Regions from separate parts of the Homo sapiens genome. Here region 2 is linked to region 1. The links are contacts of gene promoters, found by promoter capture Hi-C in human tissues and cell types (Jung and others, 2019). All regions are on one chromosome and are shown on one strand. Each heading gives the region's core, a stretch centred on a gene start or on the middle of the fragment in contact. The rest is flanking DNA. Distances are from core to core; before and after follow the strand shown.

Region 1 (6,938 bases), core at 2,039-4,538:
TCCAGCTCAGAGGTAGAGACTCTAGTAAGTATTAGATATTATTACAGTAGAAACAGTCTGGGTCACAGAACCTTCCCAGAGCTGAGAGTGCAATGCCAGGCTCTTGGATGGGTGAGGAAGAGGCTACATAACCTGACTTATTCCCCTTCTACGCTTCTGAAGCCCTGCAGAAGCAGATCCTGAGCTTCAAAACACTTTGCTATAAATTTCCTTTGCTATAGAGAGTTCTTGGGCTCAGGAGTCAGGGAAAGGAAACTTTTTGATGGTCGAAGAAGAATAATAAATGTTTACGTAGCTCTTACTGGGTGCCAGACACTGTTCTGAGGACTTTACATTCATTAATCCACTTAAACAATGAGATCAAAGGCAGATTCAGAGAAAAGGTTTTGGGAAAAGGATTTAGTCTGTCTAAATCCTCCCAAGTCTCTAAGAGATGTCTAAAAAGTTTTTTTTCCTCCAAAACATAGGGGGTGGCTGAGTTGTGCTATTTGCGTATATTTGCATATGCAAGGGGTGGGTGATGAAAGGTCTGGAGTAGTGGGATGAATGACCCATGACCTGTGCCCTGTTATGCATTGTACCTAAAGGCTGGGGGTCCACAGAAGAAGATGAAAAACCAAGCCTATTCTCAATAAGGAGGACCTTGGAGGTACATGTATTCTCATGGTCGGCCGGGGCCCACAGAGACCCCTAAATCCTCCCTACAACATACCAACACACACGCTCCTGCCCATATGCACCCATAAACTCACACACATTCCCTCTGTGTTGAAATCACTTTCCTCTAGAGAATCTATCTGCATAGGCTGAAACTGGGCTTCCTGTAGGGCTGGGAGCCTGGGAAGCAGTTGAACTGCCACTTGGACAGTGATGACCATGGTTGGCTCAATTGGCCTCTGTAGCCTCAGTTTCCATAGCCTTAATATGGAAAGGTTGGGCTGAGTGGATCTTTAAGACCCATCCTTCCATTTCCAAACTGCGAGCTCTCCCAGGTAGCTGAGATTGACACAATCTCAGTCCCCTTATCTATAGAGTAGGGATGAGGCTTGGGGACTGATGTTCAGAAGTTCCTTTCAATGTTGAAGACTTTTGTCAGAATAGAAAACTGTCTCCTGGCCAATTCTAGTATAACATCAACAACCACAGTGGCAAACATAGTAATGGCAATAACTCATTTTTTAAATGCTTCCTATGTGCTAAGCACTTCACCTGCACGAGCTCATTGAAGATCTCCAAAACCCTTGATAAGGACCCTTGTTATCCCCACTTGGGGCTCAGAGAGGTGAGGAAACTTGAGTCTCAGAGAGGTCCCATGGGCACAAGCTAGTGAAGGACAGAAAATACCCCTAGTTACTCCCGCTTTCAAACTCAGTCTTGGCCCCTTCCCACTTTTGCTGGGCAGAAAGGCAAGATCTTGGGATATACGAGGCGCAGTCTGCAAGGATATTTTGTTCAACTTCTTTCCTACTTGCTTATTGTATTGGTGAGGAAACTGAGGTCCGAGAGTAAGGAGGCAAGTCACTGCTATGAATGGAATGTCTGTGTCTCTCCTCTTCCCTGCCCCCAATTCATATGTTAAAGCTCTGACTCCCAATGTGATGGTATTGGGAGGGGGGACCTTTGGGAAGTGATTAGATTTAGATGGGATCCCATCCTTATGATGGGATTAGTGTGCTTATAAGAGGAAGAGACCAGAGCTTTCTCTTACTCTGCCATGTGAGGGTACAGTGAGAAGGCGGCCATCTGCAAGCCAGGAAGAGAGTCCTCACCAGGAATAAAATCTGCTGGCATCCTGATCTTGAACTTCCCAGCCTCCAGAACTGTGAGAAATAAATGTTTGTTGCTTAAGCTCCCCAGTCTGTGATATTCGCAGCCTGAGCTGATGAATACACTCAGAGAGTTTAGGACAGAACTGAAACCCCTTGCCCAAATGAGCTAAGACTATCCCTTATTGTTACCACTAGGGATGCTAGATTAACAAAAAAAAAAAAAAAAAAGAAGGATACCTAGTTAAATTTGATTTCAGGTAAACAAACAGATAATTTTTAGTATAAATACGTCCCATGTAATATTTGGGGCATGCTTACACTAAGAAATAATTTATTAATATTTATTTATTGGTATTTTATCTGACAACCCTATCAACCCTCTGTTTAAAGTCACTCTAACACTATCACAACCCAATAATTTGGCCTTATGAGAATCTCCATCTAGGTATTTCATTATTAGTTTTACTTGAACGGGGATTTAAAAATGATATCTCTGCCACTGCTATGATAAATAAATCCATATATGAACATAAACAAGCCTGGAAAGAACCTGGTAGAGGTGACAGTCAAGACTCTTGGCCACCAAATTATAGGATTCAGAACTCTTCTCATCCAGATGAGGGTCCCCCAGAATCAGTAACCCAGCCTTCCTATTGCAAAGTGGAAGAAGTTGAGCTCATTTGAAGACCCTCACCCTCCATATGGGACACTGGGAGGCCACATGCCCAAGGCTGACAGGTTCTCATCCCTGGGGATGCCCCACAAGGCTGGGGGTTGCTGGGCCAGGCCTCCAGGGAGGCCATTAGAGGGACAAGTCTCCCTCCCTGCGCACCTAACCTCTGGTGGCACTGCAGCAGCTCTGAAAGCTCCCTGGGAAGGCTGTCACAGCCAAGGTGGGGTTGGGGCCCAGATGCCAAATCCCTCACAAAACTACCATGTTCAGATCTTCCTGTAGTGCCAGACACTGTGCAAAGCACTTTCCTCATGTTATCTTATCTGCCTTGCACAGTAGCCCAAAGAGAATGCCATTGCGACCCAACTTTCTAGAAGAAGCTGAGGCTCAGAGAGATCAAGAAACTTCCTCTATGTCACACAGCTTGTAAACTGCAAAACTGGGATTCAAACCCAGGACTTTTTGTGTCTGGGCCTAGAAGAGTGCCCATGACAAAGCTGGTAGGGGGAAAGCTGTCAGGAGACTCGGGTCAGGCCACCCCAACCCCCCAACAGAAGCTGCCAGGCCTCACCGATAGAATAAGTTCCTGAGAGTGTACTCCTCTCCACCTGCTCCCAGCCCTGGTCCCTGCACTTACCTGGACTGATACTGATGTCTGTTTGTGGAAAGGCCTGTGCAGAGTGGAGGGTCAGGAAGGCTGCAGCCCACAGTGTCCACCTTTGCATCCTGAGCTCCTAGAAAGCAACCTCCCAGCCTGAGTGGAGGAGAGAGGCTTTTTGGCTGGAGCTTGGGTCCAGGATTGCTCTCCTAGGGTCAGATGGAGCCTGGCAGGAGCTGGGACAGACTGGATGGACTCCAGTCCCCTCCTCTTTTCTTCCTTTTCTCCTCCCTCCTCTTCACACTGTTGGAGACAGCTCAGAATGACAGCTGAAAGCAAAGCAGCCTAGGCCAGCCCCCCTCAAAGAACCAAGAGACATTTTAGCTCCCAAGCTTGCCTCTGAACCAAGACAAAATTTAGCTCTCAGTCTTGTCTCTGAGTCACGCTGTGGCCTTGGGTGTGCACTTCTCTGAGACTCAGTTTCCCCCTCTGTAAAATGGGATGGTAACGAAACTCACATTCCAGCCTGTCACAGGAGACAAAGCATCTCACCTCCCTCAGAGTAGATATGTACTGGAAGGTAAAATTACTGCAAGTAAGCATTGAGCGCAGAGGTCTCCTGGGCCATGGATGTCATTTGTTTGGTCTGCAGAGTTTTAAATTCTAAAAAATTTGTTAAGGTATAAAACCAAGAGATGCTAGGTATAAGTCCGGATTTCTGCCTTCTATTGGAAAATCGGAAGACCTAACGAAACATAGCCCTCATTTCTACAGGGCAACAATTGCATGGAGCTGAGAAAGAGCATCTCTTTCAGCCAGGCTCTTTGAGCTTCGGTTCACCAAGGTCTCCACCCCATGGGTCTGATCCTGACAGCATCCACCGCTGAGGAAGCACCAGGAAGCCTGTGTGAGTCAGCCTCCTTTCCTCTCCCTTCACCTCTCAGGGTCTCTCAGGGTTCCTCCGGGGGTTAAAGGAGGCATCTGTAGAAGATTCAACAGAGTGTTGCACAGAATAAGTGCTCCACAAAGAGGTGCAAGTGTCATCACTAGTGCATAGCTCTACTGTGTGGCTTGCTCAGAATTCAATGTTTAAAAACCCCTAGTGTTTTCATTGGGATCTCATCGCTCTTTTGGAGAATCAATATTTCTAAAAACCACAGTCTTTCTCCCCCACTTTCTGTGTCCTTAGACAAGTCACTTTGCCTCTCTGAACCTCAGTTGCCTCCTCTGTAAAATGGGGGATAAGTAGAGTACCTACCTCACAAGGATTAAATGAAGTAATTTGTTTCTAAAACTTGGCATAGATGCTGGCAAGTAGTAGGTGCTCAATAAATGACAGCAACATTTGCTATTGTTGTCATTGATCTAGTGCAAGGCTTTCCTTGGCATCACCCACATCCCCTGCCCCTGCACTCCCTTATTCCTCTCCAGAAATGCTCTGCCAGGTGCCCTGACACCTCATGTGGCTGGCACTCACAGGGACTGGAATGTGTCTGTTTGGCTTCCAAGTCTTTCTGGAACACCTGCTGCTGTGCTTGTGAGAAATAACTTAACTTGTGCCCACACAGCTTGCCTTGCCTGCTGGCACTGGAGCTGAAAGTCTGCCAAGGTCTGACTCAGAATATGAGCACAGCTCAGGCTCAGCTTCAACCTACAGGATGCCTCCTCGGGTAGATCTGTTGCCTCAAAACTAGTGTACTGGTGCATATCCCAGAGCATGCACACTTACTTATTTATAAATGGGATATATTTATTACATGTTTATAAGTGATGTGCAGGTACGACTCACTGTACTAATATATTATTTCTGTTATAAAACACACACACCCACATTGGACATTATTAAAGGTTGATAAAAGATATAAATGTGGAAGAAAGTTTGGATATTTTCTCCCTACTCCCTATCATCTTGCAAGCTGAAATTTGGGGGCTCCTGCTGTCATGTTCCTGGGTGCTGCTTGGAATTTAAAAGTGTCTATCTTAGTCTGTTTTGTGCTGCTATACTAGAACACCTGAGACTGGTAATTTATAATGAACAGAATTTATTGGTTCACAGTTCTAGAGACAGGGAAGGCCAAGATCAAGGTGTTGGCATCTGGTGAGGGCTTTCTTGCTGAGTCATCATATGGTGGATAGTGAGAGGGTAAAAGAGAGATGAGTCACAGAGAGAGAGAGACAGAGCTTTTTAAAGAGGGGATGAACCCACTCCTGCCATACCTGAGCTACTCTTGTGATAACATCTTTGATCCATGTATGAGGGAAGAGCTCTTATAACCCAGACACCTCTTAAAAGTCCTGTAACCTCATCGGACCAGTCTAGTTCAACTTTTACGTAACAAAGTTGTGAGTTGTTTTTCATTTGCCATGGACCCTCAGATTGAAGGTCATGTAACCTGAGCATGCCCAGATGAACCAAGTGTGCAACCACAGGGGGAACCTAAGTGCTCAGACTGAGGAGCAGGGACTGAATTCAGAAGCAGACACTACATGGCAGGATCCAGAATCCAATCGGATTGAGCTCTGACGTTACCCCATGGCAGGATCCAATCAGGTCATGCCTCCCCACATCATCTCATTGCAAGATCCAATCAGATCATGCCTCATTACCCTATGCTTATAAAACCTGACCCAAACCCTAGCGTGGGGAGACAGATTTGAGCCTTTCCTCCTGTCTCCTTGCCAGCTGACTAGCAATAAAGCTTTTCTCTTCTTAAAAGCCAGTGCCATGATATTGGCCTCTGGGCACATTGGGTAGCAAGCCCATTGATTACTCAGTACCAGTCCCGCCTCCCAATATCATCACAATGACAATTAAATTTCAACTTGAGTTTTGGAGGGGACAGACATTCAAACCATAGCAATGTCTCTCTGGGTGTGGACACATTAAGTGGGAAGGAGAAGAGTGGTCCAAAGCAGGCCACTAGAAATCCTTCTAAAAAGTGGAGAATCCTTTGATTTGGCAAATAAACCTCCTAAATTATCTGTGTTGTATTTTGATGCCTGAAGGTTTTTATAAATCAGTTCATGTACCCTCTCTGAATGGAGACACACAAGATATTTGTTACTTGCTCAAACACAAGTATGGTCAATGGGCCAGCAGCACGGGGATCTCCTGGTAGCACATTAGAAATGCAGAATCTCAGGCCCCCCAAGACCTGCTGAATCAATTCTGCGTCCCAGGTGGGTTGTGTGTATATTAAAGTTTATGAAACCCTGCTCTGGACAGGGTAGGGAACTTTTTCTATAAAGAACCAGACAGGCCAGGCACAGTGGCTTATGCTTATATTCTAGCACTTTGGGATGCTGAGGTGGGAGGATTGCTTGAGGCCAGGAGTTTGAGGCCATCCTGGGCAACATGGTGAGACCCCATCTCTACTTAAAAAATAAAGTCTTAGCCAGGTGTGGTGGTGCACACCTGTAGTCCCAGCTACTTGGGAGGCTGAGGCAGGGGGTTCGCTTGGGCCCAGGAGCTTGAGGCTGCAGTGAGCCAAGATGGTGTCTGCACTTTAGTCTGGGTGACAGAGTGAGACTCTGTCAAAAAAAAAAAAAAAGAGGTAGACAGTAAATATTTTAGGACTTGTGGGCTACACAGCCTCTGTCACAACTACTCAACTCTGCCAGAAATACAGGACTGGACCAGGCAGTGTGCCAATAAAACTTTATTTACAAAAATAGGCAAGGGGCCAGATTTGGCCCACGGGCTGTCACCTGCCAATCCCTGTTCTAGACCTCAAGCTTTCTGGCCAGAAAGTAAACAATTTCTTCACTTAACAAATATGATCTTTGCTGTCATTTGGAGGTTGTAGGCGTCTCTTTGTTACACCGTATGTATTTTCTGGCTTCTTAAAGTTGTATTTATTGAGTGGTGGCCTATCTTTTCTCTCTCCCAATACATACA
Region 2 (7,093 bases), core at 1,261-3,760, 210 kb before region 1:
GCACAGATGGTAAATTACTTGTCAGTCACTTCTGTCAAGATCACAATTTCCAACATAAGTGGTATTTGCGTTAAGGTGGATTTACTGTTCATCTGTATTTTCAGGACACTCAGGAAGCAAGCAAGGCTTTGGAATTAGAGCAGGGTTTCATGTATCTTTATATTCTCTTGGTAAGAATGAAATTGATTAAATCTTTTTAAGGGAATGATATAGCAATATCTATTAACATTGTCATGTACGTGCTTTGTGGCAGAAATATTCACAAAAAATAACTTTTTAATTTTTTTTTTTTTTTGACACGGAGTCTTGCACTGTTGCCCAGGCTGGAGTGCAATGGTGTGACCTTGGCTCACTGCAATCTCCACCTCCTGGGTCCAAGTGATTTCCTGTGCTTCAGCCTCCCAAGTAGCTGGGATTACAGATGTGCACCACAACACCCAGCTAAGTTTTCTTGTTTGTTTGTTTTTGTTTTTTATATTTTTACTAGAGATGGGTTTCACCATGTTTGCTGGGCTGGTCTCGAACCCCTGACCTCAAGTGATAAGCCCGCCTCGGCCTCCCAAAGTGCTGGGGATCACAGGAGGGAGCCACTGTGCCCAGGGTAATTTTTTTTAGAGAGAGGGTCTTGTTCTGTCTCCCAAGCTGGAGTGCGGTGATGGGATCATAGCTCACTGTAGCCTCAAACTCCTGGGTTTGAGCAGTCCTCTCACCTCAGCTTCCTGAGTAGCTGAGGCTACAGTTGCATGCCACCGTGCCTAATTATTAAAATTTTTTAAGGGATGGGGTCTCGCTATGTTGGTCTTAAACTCCTGGCCTCAAGCAGTCCTCCCCTCCCACCTCAGCCTCCTGAGTAGCTGCGATTATAAACGCACAAAAAATAATTGTAACAAAATGTTTCATTACCTACTGTTTTAAGTATTTAAAAACATAGAAACAACCCAAATATCCAAATATGTACAGAATTAAACATCGTTCAAGATATAGTATTTAGTGGTGGGCTGCGGGGGAGGGAAGTTATGATACTATTTGTATAATATAGCCTCACTTTTGTAATAAACAAGTAAATTAAAGTGTTGGTAGATACAGGTATGTTTGCAGATGCCTAGGGAAATAGATTTGCAAGAATAGACACTGAAGTAGGCCGGGCGCGGTGGCTCACGCCTGTAATCCCAGCACTTTGGGAGGCCGAGGCGGGCGGATCACGAGGTCAGGAGATCGAGACCATCCCGGCTAAAACGGTGAAACCCCGTCTCTACTAAAAATACAAAAAATTAGCCGGGCGTAGTGGCGGGCGCCTGTAGTCCCAGCTACTTGGGAGGCTGAGGCAGGAGAATGGCGTGAACCCGGGAGGCGGAGCTTGCAGTGCGCCGAGATCCCGCCACTGCACTCCAGCCTGGGCGACAGAGCGAGACTCCGTCTCAAAAAAAAAAAAAAAAAAAAAGAATAGACACTGAAGTATTCATAGTGAGATGAGATTTCAGGGCCCTTTTCATCTCAGTGGGATCTACTTCTGTATTATCGGGGTTGTGAAAAACAAGCGTGCAAGTTCCATGAGGGCGGGGGCTTTGTTTTGTTCACCGTAACCCCAGCACCTAGAAAAAGTACAGGCATGAAAAGTGCTGAAAAAATGAATATTACTTTTTTTTGAGACAGAGTGCCACTCTGTCACCTAGGCTGGAGTGCAGTGGCATGATTTTGGCTCACCGCAACCTCCACCTCCTGGGTTCAAGCAATTCTTCTGCCTCAGCCTCCCAAGTAGCTGGGGCTACAGGTGCGTGCCACCACACCCAGCTAACTTTTGTATTTTTAGTAGAGACAGGGTTTCACCATATTGGCCAGGCTGGTCTCAAACTCCTGACCTCTTGATCCACCCGCGTAGGCCTCCCAAAGTGCTGGGATTACAGGCGTGAGCCACTGCACCTGGCCATGAATATTACTTTTTAAGTAAAAACCACAGAAATACTTAAGACAGAGAGTGAAGGGCCCTTCCATGATCCCAAGAGCTTGGTCTGTAGTTCTCTGACGCGCTTTTTACATGGAGGCAAGCTCGTGTCCCAGGGGTCCCCAAGGCAGCCTCCAGACTCACCTCCACCTCTCTCCTTTCCAGAACAAGTGAGCTGGGGTTTGCTTTCTTCTCCATATCCTGCAGCTTGATCAATTTTTCTATCAGGAACATTTTATCTTTGCCCTCCTACCAAGAAGGAAAACAAAACCAGAAAGAAACAAAAATATGAATGAATGATGGTATGGAATTGAGAAAGCAATTGATGGGAAGAACGTCGGTTTTCAGGCAGCTAGGATCCTAGAAGTTGGATGGAGGTTACTGCCATCTTTTGGTGAAAGAAAAGAAACATTTCACAGTAAAACCAAATTATCCCCCAGAGCCTTCCTGCACTGTAATATTCTCCTCTAAAGCAATTCCCCTAACAGGCTTGAGAAAGTAGCCTCCAGAAGTCGGCTGCTGGAAGCAACTTACATGCCACGTCTCAATACCCAGGAAAAATGGTTTCCAGTATCCCCCATAGGCACGTGCCCCAGAGCAAGACTCCATGTCAAAACAAAAAAAAAAGATATATGTAGGATATGGAAAATATGAAACAGATGACCTGCATTCTTTAACAATAAAAAGAAAAGAGGAAGTGGGGAGGGGAAGTGGTAAATGGTTATAGAGTAAAAGAAAGTTAGGCATATTGGCTGGGCGCAGTGGCTCACGCCTGTAATCCCAGCACTTTGGGAGGCCAAGGCAGGTGGATCACTTGAGGTCAGGAGTTTGAGACCAGCCTAGTCAACATGGTGAAACCCCGTCTCTACTAAAAATACAAAAATTAGCTGGGCGTGGTGGCACACACCTGTAATCCCAGCTACTCAGGAGGCTGAGGCAGGAGAATCACTTGAACCCAGGAGGCAGAAGTTGCAGTGAGCCAAAATCATGCCACTGCGTTCCAGCCTGGGAGACACAGTGAGATTCTGTCTCAAAAAAAAAAAAAGAGAGAGAGAGAGAGAGAGACATTAACCAAATGCAACATGTACCCCCTTTTCAGATCCTGATTTGTGCAGTTCTAGTATAAAAAGACACTTAAGGGGACAGTTGGGGAAATGTAAACATTGGATATAAGATGATAATAATAAATTATTGTTAAGTTTTTTAAGTGTGATGATGATATTGTAGTTATTTTTAAAAGTCTTTATCTCAGCTGGGGGCGATGGCTCACACCTGTAATCTTAGCACTTTGGGAGGCCGAGGCGGGCGGATCACCTGAGGTCGGAAGTTTGAGACCAGCCTGACCAACATGGAGAAACCCCATCTCTACTAAAAATACAAAATTAGCCGGGTGTGGTGGCAGGCGCCTGTAATTCCAGCTATGCGGGAAGCTGAGGCAGAAGAATTGCTTGAACCCGGGAGGCGGAGGTTGCAGTGAGCCAAGATTGCTCCACTGCACTCCAACCTGGGCAACAAGAGTGAAACTCTGTCTCAAAATAAATAAATAAATGAAATAAAAGTATTTATCTTATAGAGAGATATATATATATATATATCTAAGTTTTAATAAATAAAAAATAATATAAAGCCTAAGATTTGCTTTAAAATAATCCAGGGAGCCAGATGGAGTGGCACCTGCCTGTAATCTCAGCTACTCCGGAGGCTGAGGCAGGAGCCCAGGAATTTGAATCCAGCCAGGGCAACATAGCAAGACCCCCACCTCTAAAAAAATAAAATAAGGCTGGGTGTGATGGCTGTAATCCCAGCACTTTGGGAGGCAGGTGGATCACCTGAGGTCAGCAGTTCGAGACCAGCCTGGCCAACATGGTGAAACCCTGTCTCCACTAAAAATTCAAAAATTAGCTGGGCATGGTGGCAGGCACCTGTAATTCCAGCTACTTGGGAGGTTGGGGCAGGAGAATCGCTTGAACCCTGGAGGCAGAAGTTGCCGTGAGCCGAGATTGCACCACTGCACTCCAGCCTGGGCAACAAGAGCAAAACTCTATCTCAAAATAATAATAATAATCATCATAATTAAAATAAATAAATACTAAGAATAAAAATAAGGGATTTGCTGGGAAGAGAAAGTGTAGATGAAATAAGAATATAAAAACATTGATGGTTGTTAGGGCTGAGAGCAGGGATATGAGAGTTCATTGTAGTATTCTCTTTATTTTGGAGGATGTTTATACAGCGTTTAAAAAGGGTGAGGGCGGACATCAGAGGGATCCAAGGGGACTTACATTAATGATCTGCTCATGGAGCAGCCTTATCATAATCTTCCTTCCCTCTGTGATCTGCCAGTAAAGATAGGTGATGATTCTGGAAGAGGAGAAAAGAAAGAATGACACTCTTGCAAATGTTTTGCAGGCTCTGAATTTCCACTGGATGCAAAGGAACTGGAATCTGTGCTTGCAGATGGATTTGGCCCAAACATGTTTCTGAAAAGTCATGTCAGGGAGAGTTATAGGTTAAATACATTGGAACAATGGTTCCTGAAGGGGGAAATAAGCCCATGCCACAGCTCCTCTTCAGACCAATTAATTGAGCATCTCTGGGCATGTCATCTCCTTAAGAGGAGAAAAGCAGGTATTGCTTTCTTAATAGAATAAGTTAAAAAAAAAGTCCCTAAGATGACCCAGCACGGTGGCTCATGCCTGGAATCCCAGCACTTTGGGAGGCCAAGGCGGGCGGATCACTTGAGGTCAGGAGATCGAGATCATCCTGGCTAACACAGTGAAACCCTGTCTCTATTAAAAATGCAAAAAATTAGCTGGGCGTGGTGGTGGGTGCCTGTAGTCCCAACTACTCGGGAGGCTGAGGCAGGAGAATGGCATGAACCCAGGAGGCGGAACTTGCAGTGTGCTGAGATCGCGCCAGTGCACTCCAGCCTGGGTGACAGTGCGAGACTCTGTCTCAAAAAAAAAAAAAAAAAAAATCCCTAAGACAAGAAGATAGTATATATAACCTTTCCCCCCTTCCCCCAGTGATGGGGTCTTGCTCTGTTGCCCAGGCTGGAGTGCAGTGGCACGATCAGAGAACACTGCAGCCTCAAACTCCTAGGCTCAAGCAATCCTCCCATCTCAGCTTCCCAAGAAGCTCAGACTACAGGCACAAGCCACTGCACCAGGCTAAGTAACTTCAAAAAAACTATCAATGCAAGCTTGGGCAAGGTGGCTAACACCTGTAATCCCAACACTTTGAGAAGCTGAGGCAGGAGGATAATTTGAGGCCAGGAGTTTGAGACCAGCCTGGGCAACACAGGGAGACCCCATTTCTCCAAAAAATTTAAAAATTAGCCAAGTGTAGTGGTGCACACCTGCAAGCCCAGCTACTTGGGGGCTGAGGTGGGAGGATGGCTTGAGCCTGAAAGGTTGAGGTTGCAGCAAGCCATGACCATGCCGCTACAGTCTAGCCTGAGTGAGAGATCATGACCCTGTCTCAACCAAAAAAGAAAGAGAGAAGTAAGGAAGGAAGGAAGGAAGGAGAAGGGGAAGGGAAGGGAAGGGAGGGGAAGGGGAAAGGAAGGGAAGGGAGGGGAAGGGAGAAAGAAGGGGAAGGGAAGGGAGGGGAAGGGAGAAAGAAGGAAGGAAGGAAGGAAGAAAAAATGAAGAGGAAAGGAACGGAACTGAAAGGAAAGGGAAGGGAGAAAGGGAGAAAGAGAGGGAGGGAGGGGAAGGGAAGAGAAGAGAAAAGAAAAAAAGGAAGGGAAGGAAGGAAGGAAGGAAGGAAGGAAGGAAGGAAGGAAGGAAGGAAGGAAAGAAAACTACCTATGCAAGGGTAGAGTCACCCAGAACACTGAGCTATGCTATAGCCATTTGCTTTCCAACCAAACATCCCTACTGCTGTTTCCCTCGAGAGCTCCTGGCTTTCCCTGCTAGATTCCCCGGGTACCACACTCACAGCACAATGAGGGTGAGGATGAAAAAGAAGTGCACACTTCCAATGAGGTTCCGATAGATCCAAACAACCCACAGGTAGCCAGGCCGTGTACTTAGGGTGTCGATCCAGCTGTAGATGGAGTGAATGAAGAGAGGCAGACCTCGAAAAGGGCCACAGTCAGCTGAAGGCTTCAATCTGGTAAAACAAAGATGGAAGAACATCTCTAGCACAAGACTCAGGGATGGTTATTCTAGAATCAGGGTGTCCCTTCTGGGCTCTGGGCCTGAAAACATCAAGTCTTGCCTGATCCAATCACACCCACTTCCCAAAGAAACCCTCTTGCTCTCAGCCTTGCTGGGGTGACCTGTACTCTAAGGACCTGCTCTCAGATCAGAGCTGACCCAACAGCAGCCAATCCAAAGGCCAAGCAGTGACTTCTGCAGTAACTTGGCTCAATGATATGAATGGGGGCAGTCAGACTTTTTTTCTTAAGAAGTTGAATTAAGGCCAGGCACTATGGCTCATGCCTCTAATCCCAACAGTTTGGGAGGTCAAGGTGGGAGGATTGCTTGAGCCCAGAAGTTCAAGACCAGCCTGGGCAACATAGTGAGACTCCATCTCTACAAAAAAATAATTAGCTGGGCATGGCAGCACATGCCTGTGGTCCTGGCTACATAGGAGGCTGAGGTGGGAGGATCACTTGAGCCCAGGAGGTTGAGGCTATAGTGAGCTGTGATCACACCACTGTACTTCAGCCTGGGCAACAGAGCAAGACCCTGTCTGAAAAAAAAAAAGAAATGAAATTAAAGACAAGTATGGTGGCTCGCCTGCAATTCCAGCACTTTGAGAGGCCAAGGCAGAAGGATCTCTTGAGGCCAAGAGTTCGAGACCAGCCTAGGCAACATAGCAAGACACCCATTTCTAAAAAAAAAAAAAAAAAAAAAATTAGCCAGGCATGCCAGGCGCGGTGGCTCATGCCTGTAATCCCAGCACTTTGGGAGGCCGAGGCGGGTGGATCACAAGGTCAGGAGATCAAGACCATCCTGGCTAACACGGTGAAACCCTGTCTCTACTAAAAATACAAAAAATTAGCTGGGCGTGGTGGCGGGCGCCTGTAGTCCCAGCTACTCAGGAGGCTGAGGCAGGAGAAGGGCGTGAACCTGGGAGGCGGAGCTTGCAGTGAGCCGAGATTGCGCCACTGCACTCCAGCCTGGATGACAGAGTGAGACT

Evidence for each region. Contacts are between HindIII fragments. The study calls those that stand out against the background at their distance.
Region 2: a contact is called between a fragment that was not itself captured here and the fragment with the promoter of CLEC19A in region 1, in 1 of the 25 tissues and cell types used here (heart left ventricle).

What each region holds. Positions count from the first base shown.
Region 1 is chr16:19,282,081-19,289,018 of GRCh38, reverse strand. It overlaps CLEC19A (C-type lectin domain containing 19A), which reads right to left and starts at 3,288. Exons shown (of 5, transcript NM_001256720.2): 1 at 3,080-3,288. The coding sequence starts at 3,167. The HindIII fragment of the contact is 9,003 bases long and covers 1-4,586 here.
Region 2 is chr16:19,489,360-19,496,452 of GRCh38, reverse strand. TMC5 (transmembrane channel like 5) reads right to left here. Exons shown (of 22, transcript NM_001261841.2): 18 at 5,885-6,058; 19 at 4,225-4,303; 20 at 2,087-2,191. Among named protein-coding and RNA genes, the nearest start is that of TMC5-AS1, 5.0 kb to the right of the region's middle. The HindIII fragment of the contact is 8,195 bases long and covers 1-6,607 here.